Linked DNA regions of Homo sapiens: all the other regions are linked to region 3. Evidence: promoter capture Hi-C in 16 types of primary human blood cells and fetal thymus (Javierre and others, 2016). All regions are on one chromosome and are shown on one strand. The core of a region is centred on a gene start or on the middle of the fragment in contact, and the rest is flanking DNA. Distances in the headings are between cores, read along the strand shown. Region 1 holds the start of B4GALT1 (beta-1,4-galactosyltransferase 1). Region 2 holds the start of MTAP (methylthioadenosine phosphorylase). Region 3 holds the start of C9orf72 (C9orf72-SMCR8 complex subunit). Region 4 holds the start of MLLT3 (MLLT3 super elongation complex subunit).

Region 1 (2,786 bases), core at 210-2,709, 5.6 Mb after region 3:
CTAGAGGTCAGAGTTCAGATCATCTGGGCAAGATAATTGAGACTCAGGCTGCTACCGGAAGTACCAGAAATGGGCAACGTGGTGTTGACTGGTTATATTTTAGCCCTCTAACACCCAGAGTACACAAGCTCTCTGCCCCTGGGAGAGATCCCTGCTCACCTAGGTTTTGGGTACCCATACCAGGAGGAGGCTAGGGGGAAGGGCTCTCGGTCACGATCCACACAGAGGAAGAAATGAACACACAGTGACAATTTACTGAGGGCTTACCCTCATTAATTAAGCCCTTATTTACCATTGTTCACAATATCTTCCAAAACAACCCCTTGAAAGGGTGACCATTTATTATCCCAGAAGAGAAATATGAGGTTCAGAGAGAAGTCACTTGGCCCAAACGATCAGGAGAAAAACCCACTCAGGAGAGTGGCTCTATGGCAAGACACGTGAACCGAGAGGTCAGTCTCCTTCCCCACCGGGAGCCTCACGTCAGTCCCCAAAAGGGAGTGGATTACTCGAGGTCCCTACCAGAGTTCTCAGTGCAAGGCTGCTCGAAGCCCTAAGCAGACCCAAACTCCAAAACTTCCTGAGCCTCGGGCCACAGCAGGGAAGTCTCCAAGGCCTTCTCTGGTTCTGGGGCTAGAGGGGCCTCGGGACTTCCCTGTGCGGTCCCGGCCCCACGCCTCCAACAGGACTCCCCAGGGACCCACCTCGCAAACCTTCTCTCCCATCCAGTCCCAAGCCTCTGTCTGGGATTTAAAACTCTGATCCAGAAGAGGGAGGCTGGCTGTCGTAGAAGAGCCAGCCTGAGGGAATGTCTGGGGGACCCTGTCGGGGAAATCCGGGGGGGTCCCAATCCTCCGACTGGCGCCGACCCGAGTCCTTACCAAGCAGCGGGGACTCCTCAGGGCAGGCGGGCAGCGACAGTGCGGTGGTGTGGGGCACTGGGACCGAGGTCAAGTTGCTAGCGGGGCCAGGGCCAGAATCCACGACTGGGCTGGAGTCGCCACCCGGGCGCGGCTGGGAGGAGGCGCCTAGAGGAGGCGGCGGCCGGGCCCCTCCGGTCCGGAGCTCCCCGGAGGACTGCCCGATGGCGGCGGCACTGTTCGAGCCGCCCTGCAGCGGTGTGGAGACTCCGACCAGTTGGGGCAGGCGGCTCAGGTCGCGGCCAGCCAGGTAGTAAACGAGGGTGACGCCAAGGTGCAGAGCGCAGACGGCCACGAGCAGGCGGCAGGCCCGCTGTAGGGACGCGCCTGGCATCGCGGCGCTGCCGCTCAGGAGCGGCTCCCGAAGCCTCATCTTCCCGCCGCCGCTTTAAGAAGGGTGTGGGCTACAGGAGGGGAGGCGACCCGCCCGCGGGCCGCCCGCCAGGCGCTGCCCCACAGCGGCGACTAGGGGAGGGCCCGGAGCGGGGGCGGGCGAGCGGCTGAGAGCTGAGACTCCTCCAGCCAGCCAGACCTGGGAGCGGCGAGAAGCCGCCCGAGGCGCCGGCGGAGAGGGGAGGGGCGGGGCCCCGGCGAAGGCGGGGGCGGGGCCGGGCGCGGGGTTTTCTGGACGAGGGCGGGAAGGCGGGGCAGCCCGTGGCGGGATGGGCGCGCTGGGCGGGGCCTCGGGAGGGTGGGCAGCGGGCGGGGCGCCGTCGTGGGGTCCCCGGAGTATGACTGCAGCTCCGACGCTTGGCCGCGCACCGCCCTCTTCCTCCCGAGCCTTTGCGGCGGAGCTTCGGTCGCGTTGAGCCGCGCCTCCTCTTCCTCCTCCACGCTGCCCTCGACAGGCCGCGCCACTTCCTGGGGTGCGAAGGGACTCGGGTGCGAGCCTGGGCCTGCAGCGCGGCGGCGGAGAGAACGGAGAGGACAGCTGGCGGGTGGTTATCTGGAGTGGTTTGGGGCCGCGGCGGCGTTCTGGCCAGTGGGCCTTGGTGGGCTAGGAAGAGAGGCAGAAAAAGGTTACCCAGGAAACGGGCTTCGACGCCGGGCGAGGAGTGGCACGTTCGAAACCCCCTCCCTAACTCAGCCCGGCTGGACCCCGCTGCTTAACGGGGGGTCCTGCGGCAAAGAAAGTGGACGGGTTGCCACTTCTGTGCCTCCCCATCAGGTAGCCTGGGCTATAAGGGGCTCTCAGACCAGCTTGGTTCCAGATGTGTGTGTGGCGGGAGTCCTGTATACTTTGAAGAGGAGAGCAGCAAGAAGCCTCTAACTCCCAGGCCAGCGTGCAGGAGATCAGCCGGCGTTACAGTCTACACTGGGCTACCCACTGTCCCATGAAGTAGCAGTTCTCCCCATGTCGTAGAGTGGGGCCCCGGCAGATTAAGAAACTTTCCTAAGAGCCCACAGCTGGCAAGAGGCAGAATTCTGGCTCCGAAACCCATGTTTTCTACAGGTTTACCCTTTGTTGATTTGCAAGTAAGGGCTGAAGGCTGTGTGGGTGAGAGACTTAGGCACTGAAGCCACTTGACCTCGATTTGACCCAGAGGCCTCAGGCCCTGAGTGAGCAGAGACACCTCACCCCAGAGAAAGACTCATGGAGGTGCTGTCAGTAATGTGGATAGGGAAGTTGAGGGCTCTGGCAGCCAACCATCAGGGAATAACAGTAGCTACCTTATTTTGAGAGTTTGCTGTGTGCCAGTACTATCTGCCATGAAGTAGGTGGTGTTACGGTGTCCATTTCACAGATGAGAAAATAAGGCTTATGAGTTGACACTTTGGTTGTGATCATACAGAATCAACTTTCCTCACTTGACTTCCTGGACACCAGGTCCTTCTGATCTTCCTCACTTCACTGGCCATTTCTGT
Region 2 (2,999 bases), core at 35-2,534, 5.8 Mb before region 3:
GGATTCTACTTTCATTCTTCTTTTGCCATTGCATTTTATAACTTAAAAGAAATAGATGATTGTAACAGAAGAAAGAAAACTTTACATTGTGAGAAAATTTAGACCTAAAGCTTATAGTAATGTGAGGACGAAAGTCTATACTGTTTAAGTAAATAGGTTCTATGAGCAGCATCCAGGCTAACATCACACAGTGGTATTTTGAATTAAATTGTACTTGTGTTTTGTTTCCGTGTTTTGCTGCTGTAAGGAAAGAGGAAAGCATCCCCTTTCTCGGCCCTCCTCCCACGTCCAGGCTAATTTGCAGCATTTCTACATCTCAGAGTCCACCCTTAAGATCCTTGCCACCCATTATTTTGTTTCAGAACGCTTAATCCATCAAGGAAGGTTAAATTGGATTACCCCAGTAGGGAAGGGACGGGGGCTGTAAGCATGAGGGATTATCCCTGTAAAGGGCTCGTGGTGTGTGTGTGTGTGCGTCCTGCTAGTGTTGAATGACGGAGACCTGAGTTTGGATTCTGAATCCAGGTGTATTCGATGCCGCTCCGGCGTAGAACGGGTTAAAGATGCCCCCAGCCAGGTAGAGCCAGACTGGGAGTTGTGCAAGGTCTCAACCCCCTAAAAGCGGCCCCTCAAATTGAAGATGAGTAAATCATAGTTCGTAAATCAGAAAGATTATCCAGTACTACGTTACTCTGTTTATTTCCCTTTCGTCATCCCTGAGTCTTGGGTCAAGTCCATCCCAGCTCTGTCCTCCAGGAATCAAGGGAAATACGCAAACCCGCGGTGGGTTCGCAGCCGCAGGAAGGACAAATCTTGCCCCCGCCGCGGCGGCCGCCCCGCGTTAGCTGCCTAAGAGAATCTCCGTGGCCGGCCAGTACCCGCCTTGGTGAGGATTCTCCCTCCCGCGAGAACTTCTGGAATGCCGCCGGGCCAGATTTTGCAGCTGAGGCCTCCGACGCCACTAATATTGGGCCAAGCAGGGAGTGCTGCTCTTCCTTATAAGGTTTTAGCGAAAGTTAAGTAAGCCAATTAAAGTGCAAAACACACAGTCTGGAACAATACAGCGCTCTATAAATGGTCTCCATTATTATCATTATCCGTTAGTTATAACTGGGGATAAAAAAAAAAAAAAAACGACAAAAACCTGGAGAACCGGAAAGGTCTGCAAAAGGGGCGGAACGCGGGAACTTCGATTTGGGGAAGGGGTGGCGGGGGAGATCCCACACAAGCAGCCAATCCAGCTGTCCCGGGGAGGAAGAGGAGGAGTCAAGGCCCGCCCCTGGTCTCCGCACTGCTCACTCCCGCGCAGTGAGGTTGGCACAGCCACCGCTCTGTGGCTCGCTTGGTTCCCTTAGTCCCGAGCGCTCGCCCACTGCAGATTCCTTTCCCGTGCAGACATGGCCTCTGGCACCACCACCACCGCCGTGAAGGTGAGATGAGCCCTCCCAGCCGCAGCGGTTCGCCCTGCCGGATGCCTTCTCGCCCCCGCGCCGGGGGACCGCGCCTCCGGGGGCCATGCGCCCGGCCCGTGCGTCCCTTGCCGCCGCGGGGAGGGACTGGGGCGCGGCACTCGGGACTCACTTGCCGCGCGAGGAGAGGGTACGCTTGCAAATGATCCCCCTGCCGCACCGCCAACACACACACACACACACACACACACACACACACACACACACACACACACACCACCTTTTGGCTTATCTGCACCCGCACCCTGTAGGGCGTAGGCACCCCTTTAGAGAGAGAGGTCGTGGATGGGAGAGGCTGCACCCATGCCACCACCATTCCTGAGAACCACTCTTCTTCCAAGAAAGACACCCGGCTGGAGTCAGGAGGTGTCCGGGCGCCTGCAGCTTCTGTGACCGTCTCCTGGTGCCTTGCGGGACTCCAGCTTCCGCTCTCTGACTCTGCTTGTTGCCTGCGGCCCACGTGGGAGAACTGCTTACTTGCTCTTTTGTATGCTTCCGGCTTCTTTTTCCTCCAAACGTAGGCCTTCTCCGCGCTGAAGTTTTCCCCAGCAGCGTAATACTGTAAGAATTCTGAGACTTTCTTCGAAAAGGAGTACAGGCGTCCGTTTTTAGGGCTGCACTGTTTGGAGGCCTCTGGCTTGAAACTGCTTTGTTTTGCAGCCTTGCAAGTTAGAGTTCAATTTCCTTGTGCCCTAGGCCCTGAGAGGCCTTGATACAAGGGGTCATTGTGCGGTGGGAAGCTTTGTGCTGAGGAGGGCACGAGTTCTGAGAGTAGCAGCTGGCTTCCCTGGGGTTTTAAACACTTCTCTCCTGGTTAGTATTCCGAGAGAGAATTACAGCACGTAAAGAAAAATTGATGATAAAACTTAAGACCTCTTCTAGGCAGTTTATTACTGGCTAAGAATGCGTTCTTGTTTGATTTTTAGAAATTTTTGGCCTATGGGATAGGAAGGTCTGCGATCTTCTCCAAAGCATCTCGATTCCCTACACTCGACTGCAGTTTTCCCGGGAGAAGGCGAATTTCTGCGGTCAGTGTGTAATCAGCCAGATTAGTTTATTACGCCCTTGCAGGTTTAAATGAGCCACTTAGAATGAGAGGAATGGTGAAGGGTGTTGCATCCAGACTTATATATGAAACTTATTTTGTCATTTTGAAAAGAATCTTGCATCCAGCAAATATTTATAGAAGGCCTCTCCCCTGCCTTCATTGTTTGGCGGAAACAAGGCAGAAATGGTTTTCATGAAACTCGTGTGAAGTATGTGACTTCTCTTAGGTGCTCATCTATAAACTGAGAATTTTACTGCAGAATTTGCTAGGAGGGCTAGAATTATATTGTCTATGTTGCACATGGTAGAAGCTTATTAAGTGGTAGTGCTTATAAGTGGGGGAACTGAGATTAATTTTGAATGATCTTTTCCCCAAAAATTATTAAGTTATTGTGTTAGGTATCATTAGGCCACAACTTTTCACCTTATCCTTGCAGGAATACACTTCAAGCGCCATTAAAAATGGAGAAATGGTGTTTAAAA
Region 3 (2,700 bases), core at 4-2,503:
CTTGTTTCAGATGTACTATCAGCATGTAGCAGTTTCCAACTGATTCAGGGTTTTCCTAAAGTGGCAGGCCTTGGCAGAGGTGGTGACAACAATGCCCGTGTCAAATGACACCGTATTTCAAGTATTCTGACTCCAGGTTATTAATATCCCCTATATGATAGTCTTGTTTCTGTGATATTCACAGATTATGTTAAAAGTTTCCCAAAGTCTGAGAAAAATCATATCTTAACAGTATCTTTTTTTTTTTTGATCCTTTGTACAAAAGTAGAAGTAATGCCAGACAGATTACGTACCCTTGTTGTGAACAACTGGTGCATGGCAACTGTTTGAATAGAAATTTACCAACTGCCACAACCAGGCAACTACTCTCCCAGAGCCTAACAATCTCGATTGCATCTGAAAGGGCCACCCCTCCTGGGAAAGTGCAGGACCTCCCTCCTGTTTCTGAATACAAAGCCTGGTGGTGTTCAACGCGGCCAGATAGACCCAATGAGCACACGGACATGTAATCTGTGCACTTCTTTAGACAACTGATTACCATCAGTCAAGTGATGCCCAAGTCACAATAGTCACTTCCTTTAAGCAAGTCTGTGTCATCTCGGAGCTGTGAAGCAACCAGGTCATGTCCCACAGAATGGGGAGCACACCGACTTGCATTGCTGCCCTCATATGCAAGTCATCACCACTCTCTAGAAGCTTGGGCTGAAATTGTGCAGGCGTCTCCACACCCCCATCTCATCCCGCATGATCTCCTCGCCGGCAGGGACCGTCTCGGGTTCCTAGCGAACCCCGACTTGGTCCGCAGAAGCCGCGCGCCGCCCACCCTCCGGCCTTCCCCCAGGCGAGGCCTCTCAGTACCCGAGGCTCCCTTTTCTCGAGCCCGCAGCGGCAGCGCTCCCAGCGGGTCCCCGGGAAGGAGACAGCTCGGGTACTGAGGGCGGGAAAGCAAGGAAGAGGCCAGATCCCCATCCCTTGTCCCTGCGCCGCCGCCGCCGCCGCCGCCGCCGGGAAGCCCGGGGCCCGGATGCAGGCAATTCCACCAGTCGCTAGAGGCGAAAGCCCGACACCCAGCTTCGGTCAGAGAAATGAGAGGGAAAGTAAAAATGCGTCGAGCTCTGAGGAGAGCCCCCGCTTCTACCCGCGCCTCTTCCCGGCAGCCGAACCCCAAACAGCCACCCGCCAGGATGCCGCCTCCTCACTCACCCACTCGCCACCGCCTGCGCCTCCGCCGCCGCGGGCGCAGGCACCGCAACCGCAGCCCCGCCCCGGGCCCGCCCCCGGGCCCGCCCCGACCACGCCCCGGCCCCGGCCCCGGCCCCTAGCGCGCGACTCCTGAGTTCCAGAGCTTGCTACAGGCTGCGGTTGTTTCCCTCCTTGTTTTCTTCTGGTTAATCTTTATCAGGTCTTTTCTTGTTCACCCTCAGCGAGTACTGTGAGAGCAAGTAGTGGGGAGAGAGGGTGGGAAAAACAAAAACACACACCTCCTAAACCCACACCTGCTCTTGCTAGACCCCGCCCCCAAAAGAGAAGCAACCGGGCAGCAGGGACGGCTGACACACCAAGCGTCATCTTTTACGTGGGCGGAACTTGTCGCTGTTTGACGCACCTCTCTTTCCTAGCGGGACACCGTAGGTTACGTCTGTCTGTTTTCTATGTGCGATGACGTTTTCTCACGAGGCTAGCGAAATGGGGCGGGGCAACTTGTCCTGTTCTTTTATCTTAAGACCCGCTCTGGAGGAGCGTTGGCGCAATAGCGTGTGCGAACCTTAATAGGGGAGGCTGCTGGATCTGGAGAAAGTGAAGACGATTTCGTGGTTTTGAATGGTTTTGTTTGTGCTTGGTAGGCAGTGGGCGCTCAACACATAATTGGTGGATGAAATTTTGTTTTTACCGTAAGACACTGTTAAGTGCATTCAAAACTCCACTGCAAACCCTGGTAGGGGACAGCTCCGGCACTGCGGGCGGGAATCCCACGGTCCCCTGCAAAGTCATCGCAATTTTGCCTTTACATGTAAGAATTCTCTCAAGCATGATTTTCACACTGGGGAATGTCATTTTTGCTAGTTGCAATATGTGGATGAGTTGTTTTTTTTTAACTTTTGAAAAACGTACCATTCTGTTTGATGTGTAAAAAACACAAAGATTTTTGAAACCTTGCGTCTTTTGGTCTGCAGGTGTATAGATTCCACTTACTACAGATGAGTAGCATTTACACCACTCAGATGTGTAAAAAAACAAAGGTTTTTTAAACTGTGTGCCTTTTGATCTGCAAGTGTGAGATGGCACTTACTACAGTGAGTAGCATTTAATCTTTTTCATCACTAAAAATCACACAGAACGTTTTAATCATTCACCGAGGAAGAAAGGGAGGAATAAATACACAAAATGGCTCTCAACGTCTACACCTTCTGCAGAAACAGACCCTTTTCCTACTGTTCTATGCTTTGTGAAAGTTGATCATACAAATTGGGTCATTCTTTTTATACCCAACTAAAATAGTGGGGGTAGGGGGTAGAAAAGCACTTAGGACAAATGACACTGCTCCCACAGTGTAATTCTCTCCAAGTCCAGCTGCTGCAACTGCCCGTTGTGACCTGAGACCAGTTTTATCTAATAGTTGCTAAAATGACCTGCTGCAGCTCTAATTTTATCTACCACCATCACTCACCAGTTGAAACTCACCAGCTCCTCAGATCCTTA
Region 4 (2,841 bases), core at 187-2,686, 7.0 Mb before region 3:
ATCGGACAGGATTGTAACGGAATGTTATCCCCAGTCGGGAAGGGGGTCGGGGAAAAGAGGGAGAACACACTCAGCCACGACAAGCACGACAACAAATGCATCGGAAACAAATCAGAAGGCGATGCCGGGGCGGTTTCCCGGCGTGGGAGGGGAGGTGGCTGGGACCCAGGGGGACCGAAGGGCTCCTGGCGAGCCCCCTCCCCGAAAGTACCGCGGCGACAGGCACACGCCGAGGAAGTCTTTGTGTACGTGTGTGTGCGTGCGTGTGGAGCGCTGTGCCAGGCGAAATGGAAACTACAGGCAGCCTCTGCTGATGGGCACAAACTCCCGTGCTCTTGCCACGGGGTTCGTGCACAACAAAAATGAGACGTCGTCATACACACTGAAACACACACACACGCCCGCAGGAAAACACGCCGAGGCATCCATAACTTAGAGCACCCCGCACCCCCCAGCGAAAAGCCCCACGCGATCGGCGAGGCCAGTCGAACCGAGCCCCCGCAACACACTTTCAAGAGCCCAAGTGGCTCCAAAGTATCTCCCACCTCCCCCCAAAAAATGAAATTCAGAAAGGCAGGGCGGCGGGCGGACAGCCGCCGAGCCTCGGCTCGCGCTCAGCACCTCCCGGCGCTGGGGCAAAGTTGCGTGCGGCCCCGCCGCTGTCAGCCCCGCACACTTCGGCTCACACACGCGCGCCGCGGAGAACGCACCATCGTAGCGGCCGCGGCGCTTTGCGGAGGTGCGGCCGCCGAGGCTGCTCGCCGCGTCCCCGGACTGTGCCCGCAGCTCCCGGCGGCGGCGGCTGAAATATGGCTGAGTTATTATTCGCCTCCTTCCACCGTGTGTGTGTGTGTGTGTGAGTGCGCGCGTGTGAGCGAGAGGGAGTGTGTGAGTGCGCTTCTTGTGACTGCAAAGAGGCGAGGAGGGAGGGAGGCGCGGGGGGTGGAGGGGCGAGTGTGAGCGTGTGTGAGTGTGTGTGTGTCTGTGTGTCTGTGTGCGCGCCGGGGGGGGGTGGGGGAGGAGGGGAGCGGAGGCTGAGGGAGAGGCGGCAGCTCCCTGCAAGCCGTACCAACCTTTCTCTAATTGGAACCGCGGAGCGCTGGCGCTGTCTGGGCTGCGGCGGCGCAGGGCGAGGAAGGAAAGTGGGGGAGGGCTTTTATTATTATTTTTGCGCGTACTTACCGAGCTAGCCATGCCTGGGGGCCCGGAGGTTTGCTGGGGTGTTGTGTGGTACCCCCCCCTCCTCCGCCCCCCCTCAGCTGTAATTCATGAAGAGGCTGCTATGAATGAGAGCGCGCCCAGGAGCGGAGGGTAGATGGCGGACATTCTCTGCCTTTTTCCCCCCGCGCTCGCTTGCTCGCTCGCTCGCTTATTAAACTCAGCCCCAAAAGCAAAAGCAGCAGCAGCAGCAGCAGCTCCAGGGTAAAGAAGATGATTGCGGAGCATGCGCCGTGGCGCCTGACACCCGGGCTCCGAGCCTCACAGGGCGGAGGGAGGGCTTGCGGGCGGGGCGGAGCGCGCGGGGAGGCAGAGCGAGCGAGCCAGGGGGAGCTCGAAAGAGCCAATCACCTGCCACCTCCCGAAACCCCGGCGGCCCGCAGCGCCACACTGGAAAGCCTCGCTTAAAGTAACAGGTTCCTGCTGGGGGGGTGGCAGGGAGGGGACGCAGGAGTGGGGAGAGCGGCCAGCTGGGGAGCCATCCCAGCCCCTGTGTAAACTCTGCTCGCCCTACAATAAAAAACGGATTAAAACTGCTGGAATGTAGCCACTGCTTAGAGCCCTCAGCAGCCGGAGAGGGGGTGTTAAATCAAGTCCTTAGCTAGTACGCACGGGGAGGAGGGAGTGGGCTTTCTTTTACTTTCCACCACGTATTTCTGTGGTTTTGTGCTGAAAAGACAAGAACTCACACCCAAACAAACTTACTTAAAGAGAGCGAGAGAAATGCCATCCTGCAAAAAACGAGCATGAAAATAGCAATGACTGAGGCTGTTCTAACCCGCAACGATCCCCTGGCCCCCTGCCCCATCCACTCACAGGCACCCGCCCGCCACCCTCACTCCCCGCCCTTCTGCCACCGCCACCGAAAATTTGAAAATGAAATGAACAAGGGAGAAACAAGGATGCTATTTCCTTGCAAGGGAACGCCTTCCGCTTTGGTAATCCCCGGCTGGGAAGCTTCATAAAGCGGTGCCCAGGTGAAAGCAAGACACCTGGGAGTGCCGGGTACAGACCCTCGGGGACCAGGCTTGGAGTTGTTTTCTTCGGGGGGCTTCCCCTCCTGACAGCCTACTGAGTTGCATCAGAACGTGGAGGATTGTCCTCTGAGGACGCGCGGGGCAACCGGGAGTCTTAAAATAGCAGATAAAGTTAATACTGACTGTAATGTGCGTAAATTGGATTATAATCTTTAGGCGTATTGGTGACAACCAGCGTAATCCATCTCTGAGTATTAATCCGGTTAGACTCCCGGGTGACAGCCAGTCGCAGGAGTGTTCCCAGAGTCGCGCCTCTGCAAATGTTCTCACTCGCGTTGTATTTGATCTCAGTGGCCGGAGATAGAACAGCGCGGCCACGCGTGGGGCGCGGAGAGGAGTATCAACTACTGGCTTCCTTTACAGACGCAGATAACCTTTAAAAAGGAAACGGATAAGATCTAGACGATTGATTTGAAAGTGAAAGATGGATGTGACTTTGGTTCGTTAAAAAAAGATCCTTGCATCTTCCTAGCCCTTAGACCTCTTTTGCCTTCTCTTTACTCCCCTTTTTCCCTCGCCTTCCAACTTCTTGCTGAACCTTGATTTTTCCTTCTCTTCTCCTTGCCTTTCCTCTTTGTCCCTCTTT

Evidence for each region. The method cuts DNA at HindIII sites, captures the fragments that hold promoters and counts their contacts. A CHiCAGO score of 5 or more calls a contact.
Region 1: a contact is called between the fragment with the promoter of B4GALT1 here and the fragment with the promoter of C9orf72 in region 3, in 1 of 17 cell types (neutrophils). The highest score is 6.0, in neutrophils.
Region 2: the fragment with the promoter of MTAP here is called in contact with the fragment with the promoter of C9orf72 in region 3 in 1 of 17 cell types (total B cells); the score reaches 5.1 in total B cells.
Region 4: the fragment with the promoter of MLLT3 here is called in contact with the fragment with the promoter of C9orf72 in region 3 in 1 of 17 cell types (total B cells); the score reaches 5.4 in total B cells.

The regions. Positions count from the first base shown.
Region 1 is chr9:33,165,877-33,168,662 of GRCh38, forward strand. B4GALT1 (beta-1,4-galactosyltransferase 1) reads right to left here and starts at 1,460. Exons shown (of 6, transcript NM_001497.4): 1 at 882-1,460. The coding sequence starts at 1,293. B4GALT1-AS1 (B4GALT1 antisense RNA 1) reads left to right here and starts at 1,072. Exons shown (of 3, transcript NR_108110.1): 1 at 1,072-1,170. RefSeq lists silencers at 1,212-1,485, 1,244-1,643 and enhancers at 1,311-1,876, 1,794-1,893, 1,877-2,441, 1,964-2,043. The HindIII fragment of the contact is 9,103 bases long and covers 1-2,786 here.
Region 2 is chr9:21,801,352-21,804,350 of GRCh38, forward strand. It overlaps MTAP (methylthioadenosine phosphorylase), which reads left to right and starts at 1,285. Exons shown (of 8, transcript NM_002451.4): 1 at 1,285-1,430. The coding sequence starts at 1,398. RefSeq lists enhancers at 164-794, 795-1,423, 1,918-2,127 and a silencer at 1,468-1,627. The HindIII fragment of the contact is 2,099 bases long and covers 109-2,207 here.
Region 3 is chr9:27,572,228-27,574,927 of GRCh38, forward strand. It overlaps C9orf72 (C9orf72-SMCR8 complex subunit), which reads right to left and starts at 1,254. Exons shown (of 11, transcript NM_018325.5): 1 at 1,204-1,254. RefSeq lists enhancers at 648-737, 1,336-1,863 and a silencer at 1,248-1,327. The HindIII fragment of the contact is 3,790 bases long and covers 695-2,700 here.
Region 4 is chr9:20,621,063-20,623,903 of GRCh38, forward strand. MLLT3 (MLLT3 super elongation complex subunit) reads right to left here and starts at 1,437. Exons shown (of 11, transcript NM_004529.4): 1 at 1,183-1,437. The coding sequence starts at 1,194. RefSeq lists silencers at 726-775, 846-995, 1,416-1,875, 1,896-2,035. The HindIII fragment of the contact is 2,564 bases long and covers 1-2,173 here.